Regions from separate parts of the Homo sapiens genome. Here all the other regions are linked to region 1. Evidence: promoter capture Hi-C in human tissues and cell types (Jung and others, 2019). All regions are on one chromosome and are shown on one strand. Each heading gives the region's core, a stretch centred on a gene start or on the middle of the fragment in contact. The rest is flanking DNA. Distances are from core to core; before and after follow the strand shown. Region 1 holds the start of ZNF586 (zinc finger protein 586). Region 2 holds the start of ZNF132 (zinc finger protein 132). Region 3 holds the start of LOC124904780 (a long non-coding RNA gene).

What was found. Contacts are between HindIII fragments. The study calls those that stand out against the background at their distance.
Region 2: the fragment with the promoter of ZNF132 here is called in contact with the fragment with the promoter of ZNF586 in region 1 in 1 of the 25 tissues and cell types used here (heart right ventricle).
Region 3: a contact is called between a fragment that was not itself captured here and the fragment with the promoter of ZNF586 in region 1, in 1 of the 25 tissues and cell types used here (hippocampus).

What each region holds. Positions count from the first base shown.
Region 1 is chr19:57,767,722-57,772,382 of GRCh38, reverse strand. ZNF586 (zinc finger protein 586) reads right to left here and starts at 2,707. Exons shown (of 3, transcript NM_017652.4): 1 at 2,505-2,707. The coding sequence starts at 2,540. RefSeq lists enhancers at 2,473-2,722, 2,444-2,983. The HindIII fragment of the contact is 4,771 bases long and covers 1-4,026 here.
Region 2 is chr19:58,438,196-58,442,856 of GRCh38, reverse strand. ZNF132 (zinc finger protein 132) reads left to right here and starts at 2,704. Exons shown (of 3, transcript NM_003433.4): 1 at 2,704-3,098. The coding sequence starts at 3,036. It overlaps ZNF132-DT (ZNF132 divergent transcript), which reads right to left and starts at 2,409. Exons shown (of 1, transcript NR_186311.1): 1 at 1-2,409. It also overlaps a transcript of ZNF324B not described here. RefSeq lists enhancers at 1,507-2,016, 2,166-2,295, 2,528-3,038. The HindIII fragment of the contact is 13,144 bases long and covers 1-4,661 here.
Region 3 is chr19:57,169,190-57,173,850 of GRCh38, reverse strand. LOC124904780 (a long non-coding RNA gene) reads right to left here and starts at 1,607. Exons shown (of 2, transcript XR_007067355.1): 1 at 1,555-1,607. RefSeq lists an enhancer at 1,580-1,639 and a silencer at 1,971-2,020. The HindIII fragment of the contact is 4,103 bases long and covers 1-4,043 here.

The sequences.
Region 1 (4,661 bases), core at 1,458-3,957:
ATCCACACATTATCTAGTCACAGAAGTACTCTGTGTTGATTGTTGTGGGGGAGAGCAGAGCAAAAGCAATTTGTATTTTTTTCCACGCAGAATGGCCAAAACAAACCTCCTGATAGCCTCAGTGAATATTACACCTGCTATCAACTTGCTCATCTCAGTTGATGCAGCTCCCATTGCTACAGCTGCTAAGATAAAAAACCCAGGGGTGTTTCCTGAATCCTCTCAAGCTCTCACTGTTCACATTTAAAAATTGAGTTGCCAGGCTGGGCACGGTGGCTCAAGCCTGTAATCCCAGCACTTTGGGAGGCCAAGGCGGGTGGATCACGAGGTCAGGAGTTCGAGGCAGCCTGGATAATATGGCGAAACCTAGTCTCTACTAAAAATACAAAAATTAGCTGGGTGTGGAGGCGCGCGCCTGTAATCCCAGCTACTTCGGAGGCTGAGGCAGGAGAATCGCTTGAACTCAGGAGGCGGAGGTTGCAGTGAGCCAAGATTCCACTATTGCACTCCAGCCTGGGCAACAGGTCCAGACTCCATCTTGGGAAAAAAAAAATTGACTTGCCCCTCTAAAAAACACAAATCCAGATCTAGCCACATTGCCTAAGCCACAACTCTAGTCCATTAATCCTCACCTCGACTAGGGCAGTAGCTTCCAGTTTGATCTTCCTCCTCCCTCAACCCCACAGTCTGTTGCCCACTCAGTAACCAGACAGCGCCTATTAAGAAATTGGTAACATCACCTCACCCCTCTAGTTTCACTTCTAAGTAAGTATTTGCACACCCCAGTATCAGTTCCTGGGTGAACCCTCCACATGTGTTACATTAGTTGACAGACATAGCAACAACTCCCCATAACCTATGTCACTGATGTAGGTTTGGGGTTTGAGGTTTTTCCAAGATCCCCAGATTGAAGGACCGGAGAAATGGCACTTAAGTGTCCTAGGAGGTGCGGTAGTTCCTGCTTGGCATCCCAGCACTTTGGGAAGCCGAAGCAAGAGGACTGCTTGAGCCCAAGGGTTCGAGACTAGCCTGGGCAACATGGCGAAACCCCATCTCTCTCTCTCTCTTTTTTTTTTTTTTTTCAGACGGAGTCTTTCTCTGTCGCCCAGGCTGGAGTGCAGTGGCGCGATCTCGGCTCACTGCAACCTCTGCCTCCCGGGTTCAAGCGATTCTCCTGCCTCAGCCTCCCAAGTAGTTGGGACTACAGGTGTGTGCCACCAGGCCTGGCTAATTTTTTGTATTTTTAGTAGAGGGGGGATTTCACCGTGTTAGCCAGGATGGTCTCAAACTCCTGACCTCGTGATCCGCCCGCCTCGGCCTCCCAAAGTGCTAGGATTACAGGCGTGAGCCACCGCGCCCGGCCGTGAAACCCCACCTCTACTAAAAATACAAAAAGCCAGTTACTCGGGAGACTGAGATGAGAGGCTCTCCTGAGCCCGGAGAGGTCGAGGCCGTGCTGCGCCGTGATCGCGTCACCGCAACCCAGCCTGGGTGTTGAGTGAGAACCCGTCGCCGAAAAAAAAAAAAGATGCCAAGATCTAGACATGTGGGATAGGATGAGGACCAGTGAAGGACTAGAGCATCCCCTACTTCCTACTGTGGATTCTGTAAGTGCTTCTGTAGCCATGAGGTGTGCCAAAAGGCAGGGCTTTCACAAATGTGTCTGTGCTCGGATTTGATAGACTCAGGCTTCTCTGTAAGCTTTTTTTGGCCCTGCAGCCAGATGACTTCAGACTGAGTCTCTAATCTTGTGGCCCAGTGCTCAATGTCACCTCTCAATGATTCAACCTCTCAATGTCCTCATCACTGCCTTCAACTCTGTTCTTCCTTCGAACATCTTTTGGGAATCGCAACTCTAACACAGATTTCCTCCTTTGTTCAAAACTGTCCATGGCTTTTAGCGTCCTCACAGTCAAAGTTCAACCCTCAGCCTGGTACTGAAGAAACAACTCCGCCTCGGCCAGGCGCGGTGGCTCACGCCTGTATTCCCAGCACTTTGGGAGGCCGAGGTGGGCGGATCACCTAAGGTCAGGAGTTCGAGGCCAGCCTAGCCAACATGGTGAAACCCCGTGGTGGCGCATGCCTGTAATCCCAGCTACTCGGGAGGCTGAGGCAGGAGAATCGCTTGAACCGGGGAGGTGGAGCTTGCAGTGAGCCGAGATCGCGCCACTGCACTCCAGCCTGGGCGACAGAGTGAGACTCCGTCTCAAAAAAAAAAAAAAAAAGAAATAACTCCGTATCACACTTCTTTCCCAGTAGACACACGATGTCCCCGTGTTCCGCATCCTCCTGCCTCAGTCGCGCCTGCAGGCCTTTGCCCTCCGCCAGTCTCGCTCTGCCGACCGCATCAACTGGGTGTCGGAAACAGGGATCCCACCCGCCGGCGCCTCTCCGTCCCTGACAGAGGCCTGGGCTGCAGGGACGCGAGGAGGCGGCCCTCACGATCAGGGGCCTCAGGGTCTGGGTGGGTAGGGTGGGTAAGGCCCGGAGGTCGCAGCGCTCACCTGAGCAGGCGCCCTCAGAGCGGCTGCTGCCGCCATGACTCTGGGCGGGGGGGGAACGCGGGCTCGGCGGTGTTCCTGTCGTTGTCCTGTCCCGGGTCGCGACCAGCGGCGTCGCCGAACCTCAGATCCGCCTGTGTGCAATGGCCACAACCACTCCTCCCGAGCTCGTCCAGACCCAGCATCGCCGGATGGACCTGACAGGCCAAAATGGCTGCCACGGCTAGGACGCCGGAAGTCCTGGCTTGACTTTACGTGCCCCGGCAATGGCACGGCTTCTCTGAAGCTTCATTGGCTCAGCCACGTTACCATTTCGCAGGGCGGATTCTGGGTAATGTAGTTCCCAGACATGGGCAGCGCTTAAGGTGGCTTTCTTCCGACTTTCCGAAGAAAGGGGCAAGCTCCACTGCGAGGGGCGCTAGGAAATGGCGACTCCAGGTCCAGATGCGGAGGAGGGTCTCCCATCTTAGAAGAGGCCATACGCACATTTCTGGGGGTACTGTGTGCAACTGATTGCCCGCGTGTTTGGAGACTTCTTATTTCAGAATTTGTGATGCTCGGCTTCTTCCTTTTTTTTTTTTTTTTGTCTTTTTTTTAAGACATAGTTCTCTCTGTCACTCAGGCTGGGGTGCAGTGGTGTGATCTTGGCTCACTGCAGCCTATGCCTCCCGGGTTCAAGCGATTCTCGTGCCTCAACCATCCGAGTAGCTGGGATTACAGGCGTGTGCCACCATACCCTGCTAATTTTTGTATTTTTAGTAGAGACGGGGTTTCCTCATTTTGGCCAGGCTGGTCTCGAACTTCTGGCCTCAAGTGATCTGCCTGCAATGGTCTACCGAAGTGCTAGGATTACAGGCGTGAACCACCGTTCTCAGCCCATTAGCAACACTTTTATTTATATCTTTAACCTACAGATTCCTCTAGAAATCTGATATCAACATCAAAAAGCTAATGAGACAAATGCTATTATGTTACAGGACAATGGCTGCGGTGTTCAAACATGGAGTATGTATGCATGAGAGAAGAGAGAGACCCTCTCACATTGTTTTATATTCAGTAAAAACAACAAGGAAGTAAAACCAAAGACAGGCAACCCCGCGCCAGGCCCGAAACCAGGCCTAGGCCCGCCTGGCCTAAACCCAGTAGTTAAAAATCAACTTATGATTTAGAAGCCGATGTTATTCATAGATTCCTTAGATTGTATAGAAGAACATTGTGAAACTCCCTGCCCTGTTCTGTTCCTCCCTGACCACCGGTGCATGCAGCCCCTGTCACATACCCCTTGCTTGCTCAAATCAATCACGACCCTTTCATGTGAAATCTTTAGTGTTGTGAGCCCTTAAAAGGGACAGAAATTGTGCACTCCGGGAGCTCAGATTTTGAGACAGTAGCTGGCCAATGCTCCCAGCTGAATAAAGCCCTTCCTTCTGCAACTCGGTGTCTGAGAGGTTTTGTCTGCGGCTCGTCCTGCTACATGCACAGGGTGCTTTTACACTGAGATATTTCAAGTGCCTTAAATCCATGCGTTCACCTCTTTGCTGGCAAGTGCTTATCATTGTCAGTGGCATTGGAATCAGAGTGACTCCATCTTGAAAATGGGCTGGATAAAGTAAGGCTGAGAAATACTCGGCTGCATTCCCAGGTTAGGCATTCTTAGTCACAGGATGAGATAGGAGGTTGGCACAAGATGCAGGTCACAAAGACCCTGCTGATAAAACAGGATGCAGTAAAGAAGCTGGCTAAAACGCACCAAAACCAAGATGGTGATGAAAGTGACCTGTGGTCATCCTCACTGCTCATTATACGCTAATTATAATGCATTAGCATACTAACTCCCGCCAGCGCCATGACAGTATACCAATGCCCTGGCAATGTTTGGAAGTTACCCTATATAGTCTAAAAAGGGGAGGGAACCTCAGTTCTGGGAAATCTCCACCTCTTTTTTTTTTTTTTTTTTTGAGATGGAGTCTCGCTCTGTCACCCAGGCTGGAGTGCATTGCTGCGATCTCGGCTCACTGCAACCTCCGCCTCTTGGCCAAGTTCAAGTGATTTTCCTGTCTCAGCCCCCCGAGCAGCTGGGATTATAGGCGCCTGCCACCGCGCCCAACCTGTAAAATTTTCTATACTTAAAAAAAAAGTTGGCTGGGCGCGGTGGCTCAC
Region 2 (4,661 bases), core at 1,455-3,954, 670 kb before region 1:
CTGCTCACTCTTTGGGTCCACACTACCTTTATGAGCTATAACACTCACCACAAAGGTCTGCAGCTTCACTCCTGAAGCCAGCGAGACCACAAACCCACTGGGAGGAACAAACAACATTGGACACGCCACCTTTACGAGCTGTAACACTCATTGCAAAGGTCTGCAGCTTCACTCCTGAGGTCAGCGAGACCACGAACCCACCAGGAGGAATGAACAACTCTGGATGTGCCACCTTTAAGAGCTGTAACACTCACTGCGAAGGTCTGCAGCTTCACTCCTGAAGTCAGCAAGACCACGAACCCACCAGAAGGAAAAAACTCCAGACACATCTGAACATCTGAAGGAACAAACTCCGGACACACCATCTTTAAGAACTGTAACAGGGCCGGGCGCGGTGGCTCACGCCTGTAATCCCAGCACTTTGGGAGGCCGAGGCGGGTGGATCATGAGGTCAGGAGATCGAGACCATCCTGGCTAACAAGGTGAAACCCCGTCTCTACTAAAAATACAAAAAAAAAAAATTAGCCGGGTGCGGTGGCGGGCGCCTGTAGTCCCAGCTGCTCGGGAGGCTGAGGCAGGAGAATGGCGTGAACCCGGGAAGCGGAGCTTGCAGTGAGCCGAGATTGCGCCACTGCAGTCCGCAGTCCGGCCTGGGCGACAGAGCGAGACTCCGTCTCAAAAAAAAAAAAAAAAAAGAACTGTAACACTCAACACGAGGGTCCGCGGCTTTATTCTTGAAGTCAGCGAGACCAAGAACCCAGAGGAAGGAAACAATTCCGGACACAGCAGGACACTGGCCAGTGCCAGGGCCAGCAGCACCTCCCAGAGGGAACAATGGAAAGGCGGAGGAAAACCTAGATTTCATGTGTAGGGGAAAGAGGAGACACAGTAGCCTTACCTAGTGGGCACTGGAGTACAAAGCTCTGTAGTATCATGTCACTGTAGAAGCCCCCTTGGACCTCACTAAGGAGCCCCACATTCTTGGAAGATGTACTGACCCTGTCCTCAAAGGTCATTAAGCCCTGCAACACCAAGCCAATGGGCAGACAGATGTGATCTAAGCACTGAGCGTGAGCCCTAGCCACTGGTCCTCCAACCTAAAACCCTCCTTCCCAAATCCTATCCTCAGGCCGTTCACTGGGCCAGGCCACCAACATAATGCAGTCTGGACGTCCTGAAGCCACACCAGAATTCTATATATCCAGAGGCCCATTTGACACCTCCACTCACAGGTCTCCAGACAATTCAGACTCTATACCTACAAAATCCATCGCTAATCTTCCATGAAACATCCTCCTCCTGCCAACTGCCAACCTCTATTCTCCACAGGAGGCATCCTAATTCTTCCTAACTACTTGGGATGGTCCTTCACCCCTACTCATGCTTATTCCACTTATCTAAGGTAGCAAAAAATTCCATTAGCTCTATCTTGAAGATCCACTGGGAATCTGATCACTTCTCCCATCCTTCTTGCTTCCGTTCTGGACAGGCCACTATCATAACTGTCTGGAACAATACTGCAATAACCTCCCCCACAGTCTCCCTGCTTCCAGCCCCACTACAACCACCTTCTCCAGTAGTGTGTTCATTCAGCAACCACTGAAATACTTTCCAAATTCTAACTCAGGTCATGTCCATCCCTTTTCTGTTCAACACCTTTCATGGCTCCCAGGCGCCCTCGGTGTGCCAGGAGAGGCAGGACTCCTCTTACGCTCTCCACTCGCTGCCAAGGGGGCATGAGAGCCTGCCTGAACGCTCAGGTCAGGGTCAAGTCCAAGTCTTCGCATATGCAGATCCCTCCTCCTGTACCCTCCACGTCTCAACAAACTGGATTCTGAAATGGTGACCCCCAACCTGTGAACGCTCCACACTGTTCAGTGGGGCCCGCAGAGGACCTGGGGCAGATACTTCTCAATCGGAGACTTAGGACAATGGTGCTGAGTCCAGCGGAGTGGGTGCCAGGAGACCTTTGGCGCACGTTCCATGCCTACAGCCGGGCGCACACTGGGTCAAGACCTCCCAATGCGTAGCTTTTCTTGGCCTCGGCCTCGCGCTCCCTAAAGCCAACATAACGCCAAGGGCGACGACTCCCGAGAGCCGCGGACACCTCCGCGCGGTGCAACCTGAGGGTCCCACTGGGCCGGCTTTATCTAAGGCACAGGGTGGGGAAGGGGGGTGCGGTGTTGTGGGGGGCGAACACTGGGCTCAGGGGCGATATTCGCCGCGGTGGGGGCGCTTGTATGTCAAGAAGGCGGAACTTCCCCGACTCTCGTGCCTTCCTCGCTCCTGTTTCCATGGGCCCAGGGAGCCTCCAAGATTCCGTCCCTCGCCTGACAACGCGGTCCCTTCAGAAGCAGACAAAATCGAGAAATGCCAAAGTGATGGTCCGAGGACGACGACGGAAGTCCCGCTGCCAGGCTGTGATTGGCCAGCGTCTTACACTCCGCCCGGAAGTGCCTGTCTCCTCGGCTGCCAATGGCCAGCCCTGAGGCACCGCGAGGGTCCTTCTGGATAATGTAGTTTGCGTTGCCTGAGCAGCGACGCAATAAACGCCATTCCTCAATCACCTTGGCAACGACCTAGCAGTAGCGTGACGGGCATAGGGAAATAGCGTCATAGACGGCGGGGATCCTTGAGCCAATGAAAGCTCGGACCAGTGGCAAGTCCGAGCTGTCATTGAGAGGCGGGACTTCCGGCGCCGCCATTGCGGTCCTCATTTTGCTGCTGGTGGGTTGGGCTACAGCAGGCCTCTGGAGCCACACCAGGGCACGGGAGTGGGTGCAGGGACCGTCACCGCGCCTTCACACGCACCATAGTGCCCGGCTAATTACTCTGCTTTTATGAGCCAAGGTGTTCCCGAAAGTGGAGCCAGCGCCACGCGTCTCCAGGGTCTCCATACCCAGCCTTCGTCCCTGCGGTGCCCAGAGGCCTTGCGCGCATTTTGCATTTGGGAAGACAGGTCCTGAGTGCGACCGTCACCCAGCGGAAGTGTGAGGGTTCGGCCCAGCGGCAGGGCTAGCCCTGGGCCTCCTGTTATGGCCCTGCCCAGCCCACAGGTTCTAATGGGGTTGCCAGCGTTGCTGATGGGCCCGGCGCAGGTAAGTGGAGTGTGCCCCAGGCCCTCACCCGCTGGGATTCCGGCCCTCAGGATCCTGAAGCCCAGATAGAGGGGATGTTGGTGTCCTGGGACTCTTGATCGTGTCCTGTCCTCACACGTGGGTCCTGGGCCCTGCCCTGGGAGTCACTTACCCTTACCATCCTGAATCCAGGCAAGGGGTTATATCGAGGGATTCCCATTTCTGGAATCCTGTGGAATGAGATCTGGAAGGCTGTCCCAGGGACAGTGACCAGCATGTGTACCTTGTTTAGTGGTGATGAAATGGAAGCATTCTGGGGACTGCCGGTCTCCATTTAGTCTGGTGGAAACAGGGAAGGGAAACCAATAGTTAGGCCTGGAATGGCAGCCTGAGGAGCTGGACCTCTATTCTGATGGTGGTGGGAGCCATGGAAGGTTTGGAGTAGAGGAAGTAGGTGCTCTGACTCCAGTCTTAACAGACGCCCTATGGATGCCTAGTGGGCAGCAGACTGGAGGGATGGTGATGGTGGAGCAGGAAGGCCAGTGAGGAGCTGACAGATGTGGTCCAGATGTGTGCTTTGGGTAGCTGGACAGAGGGGTGCCCGTGGAGGTAGGACAGATGGTTGGCTTCTGAATCTGCCCAAACTGGGCCATGGATTACCTGATGTGGGACAGTGAAAGAAAGTGAAATGTTAAGATTGACCTAAGGCTGAGTGCAGTGGCTCACACTTGTAATCCCAGCACTTTGGGAGGCCAAGGCGGCCAGATCACTTGAGGTCAGGAGTTCAAGACCAGCCTGGCCAACGTGGCGAAACCCCACCTCTACTAAAAATACAGAAAAATTAGCCAGGACATGGTAGTGTGCACCTGTAATCCCAGCAACTTGGGAAACTGAGGCAGAAGAACTGTTTGAATCTGGGAGATGGAGGTTGCATTGAGCTGAGATCGTGCCACTGCGCTCCAGCCTGAGTGACAGAGCGAGACTCTGTCTTAAAAAAAAAAAAAAATTGCCGGGCGTGGTGGCTCACGCCTGTAATCCCAGCACTTTGGGAGGCCGAGGCAGGTGGATCACTAGGTCAGGAGATTGAGACCATCCTGGCTAACACGGTGAAACCCCATCTCTACTAAAAATACAAAAAATTAGTCAGGCGTGGTGGTGGGTGCCTGTAGTCCCAGCTACTCGGGAGGCTGAGGCAGGAGAATGGCTTGAACCCGGGAGGCGGAGCTTGCAGTGAGCCAAGATCGCGCCACTGCACTCCAACCTGGGTGACAGAGCGAGACTCTGTCTCAAAAAAAAAAAAAAAAAAATTGACCTTAGATCTTTCAGATGTGGAAGTTGGTGTGAGGAGTAGATTTCAGGGGGAAGATAAAGAGTTGGATTTTGGCCATGTTGTATTTGAGATGTCCCAGACACTACCAAATTGAGGTGCCAAGTAGACCACTAAACATGTGATTATGAAATTATGTCGGGTTTAGGCTGGAAACATCCAAGGGATGGATGCTTGTGTGTGGACACTGCATGCAGTTGTGGGTTGGGTTCAAGATAGTGGCTGAGCCTCCTGAGCAGAGAGTAGGTCTAGGACAA
Region 3 (4,661 bases), core at 743-3,242, 600 kb after region 1:
GCCTGTAGTCTCAGCTACTTGGGAAGCTGAGACAGGAGAATCACTTGAAATCGGGAGGCGGAGGCTGCAGTGAGCCTAGATCGCGCAACTGCACTCCAGCCCGGATGACAAGAGTGAGACTCTTTCTCAAAAACAAAAAAAAAGAAAAGAAAAAAGAATGGGATGGGTAAAGTTCTTTACAGGAGTGTCAACTTATAAGTATAAAATGTAAAGAAGTAATAGAAATAGAATCCCCACAAGCAGTGATCACAGATTCAGGGAAGAATCATCAACAGAGGCTAAAACTAGAGGCTGAAGTGGGGGGACTTAATATTATTCAGACATTGCAAAGAATTGACCCACAGATTACTTATTAATTACAAAGAAGAAAGAGTGGAGAGATCTAGTAGATACCATCTTAACCAAGTAGTCAAAATCCAAATCTCCCAAATGGACAAACTGTATACTTAGGTGCCTCCTTATAGGACATAACATCATTGGCAATTCTGGGGCAAAATAAATGTGTTCATTGAATTATTGTTGGAACTTTGGAAAAGGTATACATTTTTCAAAATAAATAACTTGTCCTTCAAATCTCCAATATACTGAATACCTGATATTGGGCAAATTACACGTCTTCCTGGGCCTCAGTTTCCTCACATTAAAAATATGGAGATAATGTTATTACTTGCCTGCTCAATTGTAAGGTTTACAAAAAGAAAATACGTAGTTAATAACTCAGGGCTTGGTAAATGTTTGCTATTTGGAATAAACTGATGGGAGGCTACATGCAATTTCTACTTACCCCTTTAGCATGAAGATACTAAAAAAAAATTGTTTTAATGTTAATACTGGTCAGCTGTGCCTGAATTCCTTTTTTTTTTTTTTTTTTTTTTGAGGCGTAGTCTTGCTCTGGTGCTGAGGCTGGAGTGGCAGTGGCGCGATCTCGGCTCACTGCAACCTCCACCTCCCGGGTTAAAGCAATTCTCCTGCCTCAGCCTCCTGAGTAGTTGGGATACAGGCGCCCGCCACCACGCCTGGCTAATTTTTGTATTTTTAGTAGAGACGGGGTTTCTCCATGTTGGCCAGGCTGGTCTCGAACTCCTGACCTCATGTGATCCACCCACCTCGGCCTCCGAAAGTGCTGGGATTACAGGCATGAGCCACCGCGCCCGACCTGTGCCTGAATTTCAAAGAGAGGAGGGTAAAATGAGGCATGTCCCATCTCCTTCCTATCGCGGCCGAACTAGTGTTTCCGGTTAAGTTTGCCATGCTCTTAGCTGAGAGGAGGGGTCCATTCAGTTGGCTGGGAGCTTAGAATTTGATTTTTAGTTTACAGCTCTGTGATTCACCCGGGAGAGATGCAGAGTTAGGACAACAGGAGAGAAGCGAACCCGGAGAGCAACGCCTCCCAGCACTGCCTGACATCAACCGCTCTGGCAGGGCGACCACGCGGCCGGGGCCCTCCGGAAAGCAGCCTTAATCCCCGCCCGACCGCAGGTCTCGGGCCACGCAGCGCTAACAGCCGCGGGAGGGGGACCCAAACGTCAGCGGTCCCCAAATACAGGACCCTACCTTGCTCTGGCATCTCACCGGCCCTCCCTGCTGCCACTGAGCGCCGCGGAGAGGACGAGCCCGGCGCGCCCCGCCCCCTCGCGCGCCCCGCCCCCTCGCGCGCCCCGCCCCCTCGCGCGCCCCGCCCCCTCGCGCGCCCCGCCCCCTCGCGCGCCCCGCCCCCTCGCGCGCCCCGCCCCCTCGCGCGCCCCGCCCCCTCGCGCGCCCCGCCCCCTCGCGCGCCCCCGCCCCCTCGCACGCCCCCGCCCCCTCGCACGCCCCGCCCCCTCGCGGCCCCCGCCCCCCTCGCGGCCCGCGGCCCCCGCCCCCCGGACCCCCGCTCGCGCTCCCCGGACCCCAGCTCGCGGCCCCGGACCCCCGCTCGCGCCCCCCGGCCCGGGGACGCATTTCCCTTGCCTGCACCCAAGCCGGTAAAAGGGCAGACGTGGCAGCTCAAGGCGCCTGCGCCCAGCAGGTTGCAGGCCCCACTCTCTCAGGGAGACCAACATACTTGCGGAGCCGCACAGAGAGGTGAAGCTTAAAAGAGGTACCGGTGATGATATCCGGGCTTTTGAGGGCACGGAATTGAAAACTGGAGTGAAACATACAAATAAAAGGAAATAAAAGCTCATCAAGTTTTCTTTGTGTTGCTGATGGTGTAGCACAGGTCAGATACTCGCCCTGCAGAAAAGTCAGGTCAGGAATTTAGGATGCAGGATGACTTCTGATTCTTCCCCAGAGGCACTACCTGTGTGCACTGTTGGCCTCCCTTCTCCACGACTTCACCTGCATTTTTATGTACAATTTTAAAGGTTCTCGATATGGAATTGGAAATGGAATCCTGTGTCTTTTGGTAAACATTTACTAAAAGGCATCACATCTTGTTCTCCGTTTTCAGGAAGTTCACTCCTCCTTGTCAGTACTTTGACTAGACAATTAAAATAAACATAGATCCAATTTAGAAGAATGCTATAAAGATACAAAAAACATAAAAACAAAATATTATTTTAAAATACTGAATTAAGAAAACACTTGCAGGACATAGGACAAATGCAGCATAATATTTAAGTCTCAAAGAAATGTTCTACCTAAGAAAGAAGCAAAGAATCTGAAAGCTAATAAAAGAAAAATAAAATATGGCAAATACATTTGATTAAAAGTGTTCAAGCACGCTAGCGCTCAAATTAAAAATAAAACAATGAGATATTATTTCCAGCTCTAAGATTTATAATGATTGAAAATTTGATGGCTGGGCATGGTAGCTCATGCATTTACTGTCAGAGCACTTTTGGAGCCCTAGGGGGTAAGATCGCTTGAGCCCAGGAGTCGGAGGCTGCAGTGAGCCATGGTTGCACCACTGCATTCCAGCCTGGGCGACAGAGCAAGACCCTCTCAAAACAAATAAATAAATAAATACAATTTAAAAAAGAAAGAAAAATATTTTAAATAACTAAACTGAAACAGGTCAGGGTCACTGGTCTCATTGTCTAAGGTGTTATCTAAGCTCGTGGTCTCATGACCAAGAAAATTAAGGAGCGTGGACACAAACAGTGAGGTTGGATCAAAAATAGAAGCAGAGAGTAAAATGGTGGTTGCCGGGGGCTTGAGTGAAGGGGAAATGGGGAAATGTTGGTCAAGAAGTACAAATTTTCAGTTTTGCAAGATAAGTTTTGGGGATTTAAGGTACATAGTGACGTTATTTGACATGTACATTGTGACATTATGTGACATAGTTAACAAATTAGAAAAAAAAATTTTAAATTGGATGATCAGAAATGAAAAAAACAATACTACTTGACATTTGCTAAGAGGATAGATTTTTATTTTTTGCGACAAGGATAGACCTTAAGTGTTCTTCTGCATGGGGGAGAAAAGGATATTTTTTTTAAAAAGTGTTCTGACCGCACACACACACACACACAAAGGGTATAATTTGAGGTGGTTAATACATCAATCAGCTTGATTTGATTATGGTAACCATATCATATTATATGTGTATATCAAAATTCAAATCGTATATTTAAAATATGTATCTTTTTTGTCAACTGTACCTCAATAAAGCTAAAAAGTAAATACAAGGCCCAGGGCAGTGGATCACACCTGTAATCCTAGCACTTTGGGAGGCCGAGGCAGGTGGATCACCTGAGGTCAGTAGTTCGAGACCAGCCTGGCCAATATGGTGAAACCCCATCTCTACTAAAAATACAAAAAATTAGCCAGACGTGGTGGCAGATGCCTGTAATCCCAGCTACTCAGGAGCCTGAGGCAGGAGAATCACTTGAATCTGGGAGGCAGAGGCTGCAGTGACCTGAGATCACCCCACTGCACTTCAGCCTGGGCAACAAGAGTGAAACACTGTCTCAAAAAAAAAAAAAAGTAAATACAATATTTAATTGGAGTAAATATAATATAATGTAACATATATGCACACACACAAAGGGTGTGGTTTGAGGTGGTAAATACATCAATCAGCTTGATTTGATTATGGTAATTATATCTTTTGTGTATTTCAAAATTCAAACTATATTTAAAATATATATCATTTATATCATTTTTGTCAACTGTACCTCAATAAAGCTAAAAAGTAAATACAATATTTAATTGGAGTAAATATAATATAATGTAATATATATGTACACACACACAAAGGGAGTGGTTTGAGGTGGTAAATACATCAATCAGCTTGATTTGATTATGGTAATTATATCTTTTGTGTATTTCAAAATTCAAACTGTATATTTAAAATATATATCATTTATATCATTTTTGTCAACTGTACCTCAATAAAGCTAAAAAGTAAATACAATATTTAATTGGAGTAAATATAATATAATGTAATATATATGTACACACACACAAAGGGTGTGGTTTGAGGTGGTAAATACATCAATCAGCTTGATTTGATTATGGTAATTATATCTTTTGTGTATTTCAAAATTCAAACTGTATATTTAAAATATATATCATTTATATCATTTTTGTCAACTGTACCTCAATAAAGCTAAAAAGTAAATACAATATTTAATTGGAGTAAATATAATATAATGTAATATATATGTACACACACACAAAGGGTGTGGTTTGAGGTGGTAAATACATCAATCAGCTTGATTTGATTATGGTAATTA